Regions from separate parts of the Homo sapiens genome. Here region 1 is linked to region 2. The links are contacts of gene promoters, found by promoter capture Hi-C in blood cells and fetal thymus (Javierre and others, 2016). All regions are on one chromosome and are shown on one strand. The core of a region is centred on a gene start or on the middle of the fragment in contact, and the rest is flanking DNA. Distances in the headings are between cores, read along the strand shown.

Evidence for each region. The method cuts DNA at HindIII sites, captures the fragments that hold promoters and counts their contacts. A CHiCAGO score of 5 or more calls a contact.
Region 1: a contact is called between a fragment that was not itself captured here and the fragment with the promoter of GPR183 in region 2, in 4 of 17 cell types (total CD8 T cells, non-activated CD4 T cells, monocytes and 1 more). The highest score is 6.3, in total CD8 T cells.

What each region holds. Positions count from the first base shown.
Region 1 is chr13:99,265,768-99,270,537 of GRCh38, forward strand. All of the region lies in intron 4 of UBAC2 (UBA domain containing 2), which reads left to right. Among named protein-coding and RNA genes, the nearest start is that of GPR18, 9.8 kb to the left of the region's middle. The HindIII fragment of the contact is 1,363 bases long and covers 711-2,073 here.
Region 2 is chr13:99,305,189-99,309,636 of GRCh38, forward strand. It overlaps GPR183 (G protein-coupled receptor 183), which reads right to left and starts at 2,211. Exons shown (of 2, transcript NM_004951.5): 1 at 2,152-2,211. All of the region lies in intron 4 of UBAC2 (UBA domain containing 2), which reads left to right. The HindIII fragment of the contact is 4,315 bases long and covers 1,679-4,448 here.

The DNA.
Region 1 (4,770 bases), core at 142-2,641, 40 kb before region 2:
GAATGGCTAATGTTTCTAGGTAGATACAATTACAAAGACGTACCAAATAAAATAATGAGACAAAAAGAAATAGGTAGATTGGGATTGGCTGTGTAGAGGTTTTAAGGTAAAAGTGGGCAAGTTAAAAAGGTTTCGTATCAGAGAAGTTAGTTGCAATTTATTGAATGTAGGAGTACTCACACAGTTTATTTGAATATGAAATAGATCCAGATTTCTTATGTATGGTCTCCGGTTTTCCATACCGATTGATAGTTCAGGGCTGCTTTGACATAAATACTGTGCTTCTACTGCCACCTACAGATGATTAGTGGGTCTTGGAGCTCTTCACCTTTACCCCTTCTAAAGTCTCTTTGAAATTGAAATAATTTTTTTTAAAAGCTATTAATTGGTAGAATATTATAAAATATTTTAATGTTACTTTATGAATATTTCTATATTATATTACATAATACTATATAATATGTAGCTTTATATAATAGATATGAATGTATTCCTCTAAAACAAGGTGGCCAATCTTCTGGCTTCCCTTGGCCACATTGGGAGAACTGTCTTGGGCCACACATAAAATACACTAACACTAATGATAGCTGATGATCAAAAAAAAAATCATGGAAAAAACTCATAATATTTTAAGAAAGTGTACTAATTTGTGTTGGACTGCATTCAAAGCTGTCCTGGGCCCATGTGGCCCATGGGCTGCAGGTTGGACAAGCTTACTCTAAAACATTTTGGCTTGTAGACCATTTCTGCCCTCTTTGGAAGCATCCTCTTTTTTAGGAAACAGTTTTTCTCTGTAGGACTATGTGTATTCCTGGGCTAGGGCCTTGAGAAGATTCCATTTTAACTCTTATTTGTATCTGATATTATACTAAGATATTAAACATAAATGTGGCCTTAGAACAAATTTGACATGTTAAATATATATATATATGTATTAGACAATTTATCGTCTTAACCATGTTTAAATGTGCAGTTCAGTAGTGTTAAGTTCATTCACACTGCTGTGCAGCCAACCTCCAGGACATTTTCATCTTCCCAGACTGAAAGCCTGTACCCATCATACAGCAAATATCTCTTCAGTCCCTACTTTCAGTTCTTTTGGGTTATATCCCTGAAAGTGAAATTGCCGGATCGTGTGGTAATTCTGGTTTTAGTTTGTTGGGGAATGGCTGTATCGTTTTCCCCAGCAGCTGCACCAGCAACACAATGCCCAGTTTCTCCCTATCTTGGCTCGCAGGCACACCTCTCTCACACTCGCCCTTCCCTCCCCTCCCTCCCTTCCTTTCCTGTAGTAGCCATCCTCATGGGCATAAGGTGGTGTCTCATTGTGGTTTCATTTCCATTTCCGATGATGAGTGACTTCAAGAATCTTTTCATGGGCTTCTTGGCCATTTATATATATTTCTTCTTTAGAGAATTGCCTATTCAAGTTCTTTGCCCATTTGTTAATCTTTCTTGGTTGTTGAGCTGTAGGAGCTCTTTATGTAATCTAGATGTTAATCCCTTATCAGATGATTTGCAAATATTTTTTCTCTTACTCCGTAGGGTGCCTCTTTTCTTTGTTGATTGTGTCCTTTGATGCAATTTTTGGAGCATATTTTAGGCTTGCTCATTTATCATATTTTGATGATAAGGATGAATTTCATAGCTTTAGATTTCTAAATGGTGAGGGGAAGGGAGGGGAGGTTATCCTGAGTAAAATCAATGAGTCCTTTTGGAACCTTTCCTCATGACTTAAGCCGAAGCAGTATTTTCCTGCAGTCCTCAGCACCTTTGCCTTGTCCAGGAGGATATAAGTAAGGAAGGAAGAAACTAGCTCTGTTCCAGAGTCTGCTCACTTCAGAGCCTTCCACTTGCTACTGCTGCTTTCTTATGCTCTGAAAGGTATCTGCCTTTATTATTATAGTCATTTGAAATTGAAAGAGTAACATTTATCTTTTTGTAGCATTCTTGGTCCCTGCTGTTCTGATTAATATTTTATCAGTGATAAAAAATACCAAAATATAGTGTGTTTGCTCATCAGATTTGCAAATTACAAAAACTAGGAGGATATTTCAGTAATGGTGGAGGCTAAGCTTCTGTAACAAACCGCTGACACAGTGGCTCAAAGAGCGCAGATGTTCATTTCACTTTTGTAACCACCCTGTGGGGTAGGCAGGCTCTGTACCGGTAAGTCGTCAAGGGCCTGGTCTGGTGGAGCACCTCTGCTTTCCTCAACATGTGCCTTCCAAGGAGGCTCCATGGCTTCTGCTTCCAGCTGGTGTGGAAGAAAGAAGGGGCATGCAGGAGGAGGGATTGCCTTTCCCCAGGTGCCTTCAAGGTTGCAGATGTCACTCCTGCTCCCAAACCATTGGCAAGAACTTGGTCACGTGGCCACACCTAATCACAGGGAGGCTGGGAGATGTAATCTTACCTGGGCAGTTGTGTCCCTGGAGATAAGGGAACAGTGGGTTTTCGGGGAGCTGCTAGCAGTCTTCTCAGAAGAACAATAGCTCTAACACATTAGCTGCCTCAGCAAGCTGGAGTTTTGGGCTTTATAGTCAAAATATGAAACATAGAAGGAGGCCAGGCATGGTGGCTCTCACCTGTAATCTCGGCATTTTGGGAGGCCAAGGCAGGCAGATCGTTTGAGTCCTGGAGACCATCCTGGGCAACATAGCAAAACCTTGTGTTTACATAAAATACAAAAAATTAGCCAGGCGTGGTGGCATGTGCCTGTAGTCTCAGCTACCTAGGAGGCTGAGGTGGGAGGATCACCTGAGCCTGGAGGGCCGAGGCTGCAGTGAGCCATGATCCTGTCACTGCACTCCATTCAGCCTGGGCTACAGAGTGAGACTCTGTCTCAAAAAAAAAAAAAAAAAAAAAAAGAAACACAAAAGGTAAAGAAGGTAAGAGAGAGAACATTAGGTCTTTCTCTTGAGTCTTAAAAATCAGCTGTAGAGGCACTGAATGATAGAGTTGTTTGGCTTGTGAAATGGCATCATGGAGTGACTGCCAGTTGACACTAATATGCCCCTAGATGCCATTTGTAGGATTACAGGGAAACAAGGATGTTGCTGGTGGTCCAGGTTGGCATCAGGATGGGGTGGAGATGGAGATTGGCCATGGGAGAAACAGGTGGAGAACAGGCATTGCTTACCCCAGAGAGAAGAAACTGGGGCAGAACTGTCTTCCACTGTTGAAAGGGCTGCCCAGTGAAAGAGGAGTTAAATAAGGGGGGAATGGCCTGTGGTGAATGAAGACCACGGGGACATGCTACGGGATATAGCTTTGGGCTTGGCATAAGGAGTAACTTTGCAGCACTCACTGTCTCAAGATGAGGTGATCTCCCTTGGGAGCTGCTGAATTTGACACTGAGGATACTCAGGCTGTGGCTGGGAGAGTGCGAGGCAGGGGTGTTGCAGGAAGTCCACTCATTGGTAGGTACCACAAATGGAGTGCCTATGAAATCCCTTTAAACCGTGAGCATTCTGTGGTTTAAATGAGCTATATTCTGATTCTGTGCTCTTCTTTATTGTGAGATTCATAAGTAGGCTTAGAGAACTAGAGAAATTAATTGGAGTCCAGCCAAGGGACCGCATTTCCCAGGATGTTCTGTGCAGCCTAGTACTGGTACAGCAGAACTTGTTCCAGGACATAATTCACTGCAATGTAGAGTTATTATTATATTTCTCAAATTCTGTAATACAAAGAGGTTTGATATTTTTTCTATATAATCTAAGTGATTGATTTTTTGCTTTCTTATAAGCAAGGGGTATTTTTAAATTTTGAAGTACGTACTTCCAGAAAGTCTTTATAAATACTTAAAGAGGAATAGAATGAGAAAATCCTGACACCATTAAGGTAAGAGCTAAATAATGAGTTGGTAGGGTGACATATTTGAAACATTTATAAAATAAAATATTCAAAATAAATTACATTTTTCATATTATTACTACGAATTCTTACAGAACTTCAATCTAGACTGTAAGCTTCCATGTTAAAGCTGTTTTCCCCTTTCTGAAATGAGCATGCTCAGCAGTTCAGTAGGCATTGCCTGCAGTAACACTGCACTAGATGGCAGTGTTACATAGAACTTGATAAAAGCTTTAACTCCTCTAAAATAAGTTATTAAATGGGGATCATATGGTGAAACATTTTTGTAATAAATAACAGAATGGTATTATACTTTATACAAACACCTTTAACAGTTTGATACCCTGTGACTATTTCATAAAGGCGTGTGCTGTAGTTAGAATTAAAAACTGGTATTGTGTATGTGTGTTAATTTTTCCTAAACAACACAATAAAGTATTTTAAACACCACTGGTATAGCAATTGTGAAACTCCTATGATGTAAACCTAAGAATGATTTTTAGTTCTGATTATTCATGGGCTCAGCTCAGCACAGTTCCAAATTTTAACTACGTAAGGTGAGGCAACACACTACTTGGCCCTAATAGTAACATTAAAGAAAAAAATAATCATTATCTGAAAATTATTGAGCTAATCAAAGAGAATTGTAAGCAGATATTTTTATCAAGGGCATATGGTAATATTGTTTGCCATTTTGTGTCTCTTTGAAGTCTTATATGAACCACAGACTGTTTTCACTAGAATGCACATGTATGTAAATGTTAATAAGAAAATAATTGGAATTTAGCAGAGGTGAATATTATGGTCACATTTATAGTCATCAGCTTTTGTCTTCCTAAATAATGCTCCTTAGCTAATTCTTGGGCACAGATCAAGTGTTAGATTTTAATTACTACTTTTTACATTTCTATATCA
Region 2 (4,448 bases), core at 961-3,460:
AGATATTTGCAGAGATTTAACAAAATATTTTTATTCTTCTCTTTGGGCTTCCAAAACACCACAGCCATCTGTGTTACTGTCACAGCTTTCAGAGGATTCTCACATGTGTTATCTCATTTTATACAATGCCCAGACTTCTTGAGAAGGTGATAAACCCCCCAGACTGGAGAACACCACGCGTCCTCTACACAGGCCACGTCCAGGGCTGCCTAACAACTCCAGCAGGTCTTAACCATAGCAGAGAGAAAAGTATCCCTGTAAACGGCTTTATTAGGTGCGAAGCTCTTTTAAATGTAAGCTTCTTGAGGATGATGACTTGATCTCATCCAACATTTTATCCTATAGAATGCTACAGAACCAACCTACAATAGATATCTAGTAAATATCTATAGAATAAATAAATGAATTAAAGTCATATAGAAACCTGAGTTAATATTTATTCCATTAACTGACTGGTCATGGTACTAATTAGCTCTAGGAAGCCAGATGAAAGTAATTTATGCAAGGGATCATTACCATTGTCACTAACGCGATACATAAACATGTGAGTGAACATTTTGTGGAGTAGCATATTCTTTGTGGTTTTATGTCCAAAAAGTGCAGTGAACCCGCAGAGAGAAAACATGCTAAAATATAAGAAGTGTGCAGTCCTACCAGTAAGCACAGTTAGATGTGTGATCATCCATAGACTCAGGGCCATTTATTTATTTATTTATTTATCTATCGAGACAGAGTCTCGCATGGTCGCCCAGGCTAGAGTGCAGTGGCGCAATCTCGGCTCACTGCAACCTCCGCCTCCCAGGTTCAAGGGATTCTCCTGCCTCACCCTCTTGAGTAGCTGGGATTATAGGTGAGTGCCACCGTGCCTGGCTAACTTTTATATTTTTAGTAGAGATGGGGTTTCACCATGTTGGCCAGGCTGGTCTCGAACTCCTGATCTCAGGTGATCCGCCTGCCTCGGCCTCCCAAAGTGCTGGGATTACAGGAGTGAGCCACCACACCCAGCCTGATTCAGGGTCTTTATGTAAAATATCCATAACATATCTGTTGGATTCACCCTCTGGTACGTCAGTGGCCAGAGAGATGGGAGAAGAATGATGGGAGACAGTTTTTTAGCACTTATAATGAGAGGCAATGTTGTAAGGACTTGGCAGTAGTAATACTCCCCATTTTACAGGTAAAGCAGCTGAAGCCAGATATTAGGTAACTTGTGTGTGGGGGGGCCACACAGCTTGTAAATTTCATTTGATCCTGATTTCAGAGCCCTTGCTCTTATTACACTATATTGTACTCAGAGTGACACCAAAAAAACAAAATACCACGCCCCCCTCCCCCAACACACACACAAACACACATATATAAAACCCTCACTGCCCTTTAAAGGAAGTCTCTTCACAGCTTCTATTTTGCCAAGTTTCTGTTACCACCATTCCCAACCTGGACATAAATGTTGCCAAAGCACTGCATAGAATTCATTGTGATTTTTTCCCCTCAGGCACATAGAAAAGATACGTTTAGTCTAAGTAAACACAAGTATAAACCACACAACAGACTTTTTTTTCACTTATCTAATTAGTAGTATTTAGCATTTAAAAAGCAAAGATTGGTACTCTTTGCTGGCGGGAGGGTAAATTGGTAAAATGTTTTTGTAGACCAAAAAGTACCGTTTTATATCTAAAGCTTTAGAAAATATACCCTTTGCCCTAGGAATTCTACCCCTGAGATTCTATCCTGAGAAATAATCTTATATTTCTAATAATTCCTATAGCATAGGAATATTCTATATTAAAATAACTTTGTTCCTTTTCCTTCATACTAAGTTATCCTGAAATATTGGCATTATTTGCATAGTTTTGCTTGATACTGTCTTTTGTCATTGTGAGTTTATACAGTAGTACATGAAGTGAGCCCTATTTTTTGACAAAGATATTTCTGGTGGACCCATCGCTTTCAGTCAACTTTATAAGAACTAACTAGACCTACCAGTCAGCAGAGAGAGTAAACTTACATTATTAATATAATTTTTGTTAGAAGTGATGGTAGCTTGTTCTTAAATAGATTGTTTTCCTTTTTACCTTTTACCTTAAAACTTAGGCTTTTAAAGTTTTTCTTTAAAAAGTTTGTTGAAAAAGCAAAAGATCTTGTACTTACATATCAGTGACTCGTTCGGGTCTCTGTGTAGTAGCTGTGAGTAGTTGTCCAAACTGAAGTAAGTTTTAACTGTGGCATGTTGTTTTAAGAGAGGCTGTGCAGACCTCCTTTTATGGTGGTGACTTTTTTTTTCTCTGTCACCCTGTGACTGAGCATGTAATGAGCAGTTAGCCTCGTGTACGTGTGTGCACTTTGTGTTTTTTTTTGTTTTAAATGGGAAGTGAAATTTTTTATAGTGATTAAAAAAAACTATCCAAAAGCCCCTTGGAATTTATGAATTGTTGATATCTGTGGAACTTTATAAATTTTTCTGTAAAGGTTTAAGTATCAAAAAATTCTTTGAAAGAGACTGAAGCAATAAACCTTAACCAAAAAAAAGACCAAGTTACTGATGATTTTATATTGATTTTGCATGTAAAAGTATGGGTTTTTAAATGTTTTAAGGAAAATAGTGTCAACTTTGACAGTGCTTTTTACCTGGAAACTTGGTATCAGGGAGTAGTTTACACATTCCACCTTATCCACAGCTTATGAGAAAGAAACAGGTTTCTGTGGCGTGGGGGTGAGTGACAGTCCAGGATGTGGAGTGGACTGGATTAGTCGCCGTTTTCAGTCGAGAGGCTGCCTGAGTCAGAGGCTGTGTGAGTACTTGAATAACAGGGAAACAGTTGAAGGGAGGCCCATTATAGATAAAATCCAGCCTCTTCAGCACAGGGTGAAAGAGACTCATGCCATTCACCTCATAGTTGTAGTTGACTCAGTTTAAACCAACTAACGTGTCTGTCAGAATGCAGTTTATTTGTAGGCTAAATTACCAGATATGTAGCACTCAGATCAGGAGAGGTGATGTTTACACTTAGTCAGGACTGATCTGGCCATTCCCAGCCACTTCTGGGTGCTGCTTTTTACGAAGACATAGATAACACCTGTGGCAGTGAGGGGCCTGGATAGCAGGTCTTAGGAGAACTGATTAAATAAGCTGGGGATGTGTATGCTTTGTAGGCATAGGGTCATTATCCTTATGCTTGTGGAAACTCTCATAGAAAAGTGTTTACATTGCTTGTGTCAGTCTTCCTAACTCCAGAGACTAGCGGGAGGGTCAGTAAGAAGTTACTGGACATAGCTTTTGGATCAAAAGATGAGAGTCATTCCCAAAAGTTGTGATTATTTTGAAAAATGGAATATGCTGTTTCTTATTTAGATGCTTGAGTAAACTTGATGATTTTGAGGGATGATGTAAACAGAATTGAATCATTTGGTAGGAATTTGTAACTCTGTGATCTCAGAAGCCTTTCTGCTCCAGGATTCTGTAAAAATAGTCGAGTAGCTTTTGCCTCCCACAGATGTCATTAGGTTCTTCTAACGTCTAAAGTGCTGTGAGTATGGAGGAACATTGTCAGACACAAGAAAGAGCATCAAGCAAGTCAGCTGAATTCTTTGGGCCGCCACCTCACTGTGTATAAAATAAAGGTATTGAACTAAATGATCTCCAAGGTAATTCCTAGTACAAAAATTCTATGAGGGGGTAATACAGAGATTTTATGACTTGGTGGATAAACATGACATCATATTCTAGAACTAGTTCATTTAAAACTTAGGCTGCAGAGTACTTGAAGAAGACACTGTTGATAAATTTTTCAGTTTGTTGAAAGACCATTCTGGTGGGGTTTTGCCTGTTAATTTTGAAATAGTTATATTAAGTAAAACATTTTTATATAGTGAAGGACTCAGCTAGTTCAAGTAATTCCTCTGACAAACTGGATCTGTCCTCCCAACCTTCTTTTTTTTTTTTGAGACAGAGTCTCGCTCTCACCAGGCTGGAGTGCAGGGGTGTGCTGTCGGCTCACTGCAACCTCCACCTCCCGGCTTCAAGCAATTCTCCTGCCTCAGCCTCCCGAGTAGCTGGGACTACAGGCATATGCCACCATGCCCAGCTAATTTTTGTATTTTTAGTAGAGACAAGGTTTCACCATGTTGGCCAGGATGGTCTCAATCTCTTGACCTCATGATCTGCCTGCATTGGCCTCCCAAAGTGCTGGGATTACAGGTGTGAGCCACCGTGCCCAGCCCCTTTTTTTTGATATCAGAGTAGTCAGGCAGATGAAGAAGAGGTGATGGGGTCATTATCCTGTAAGAGGCCGCTGAAGCTGTATATTAGATCATTTCATGAGCTCACAAACCTTGTTTTTATTGCTGTTGAAAGTTACCAGGGTTTCTTGAGTTGTGATTGTACTGTAAAAGTAGAGTTGGCCTTTACAGTTTTTTTGTTTGTTTGTTTGGAGACAGGGTCTCACTCT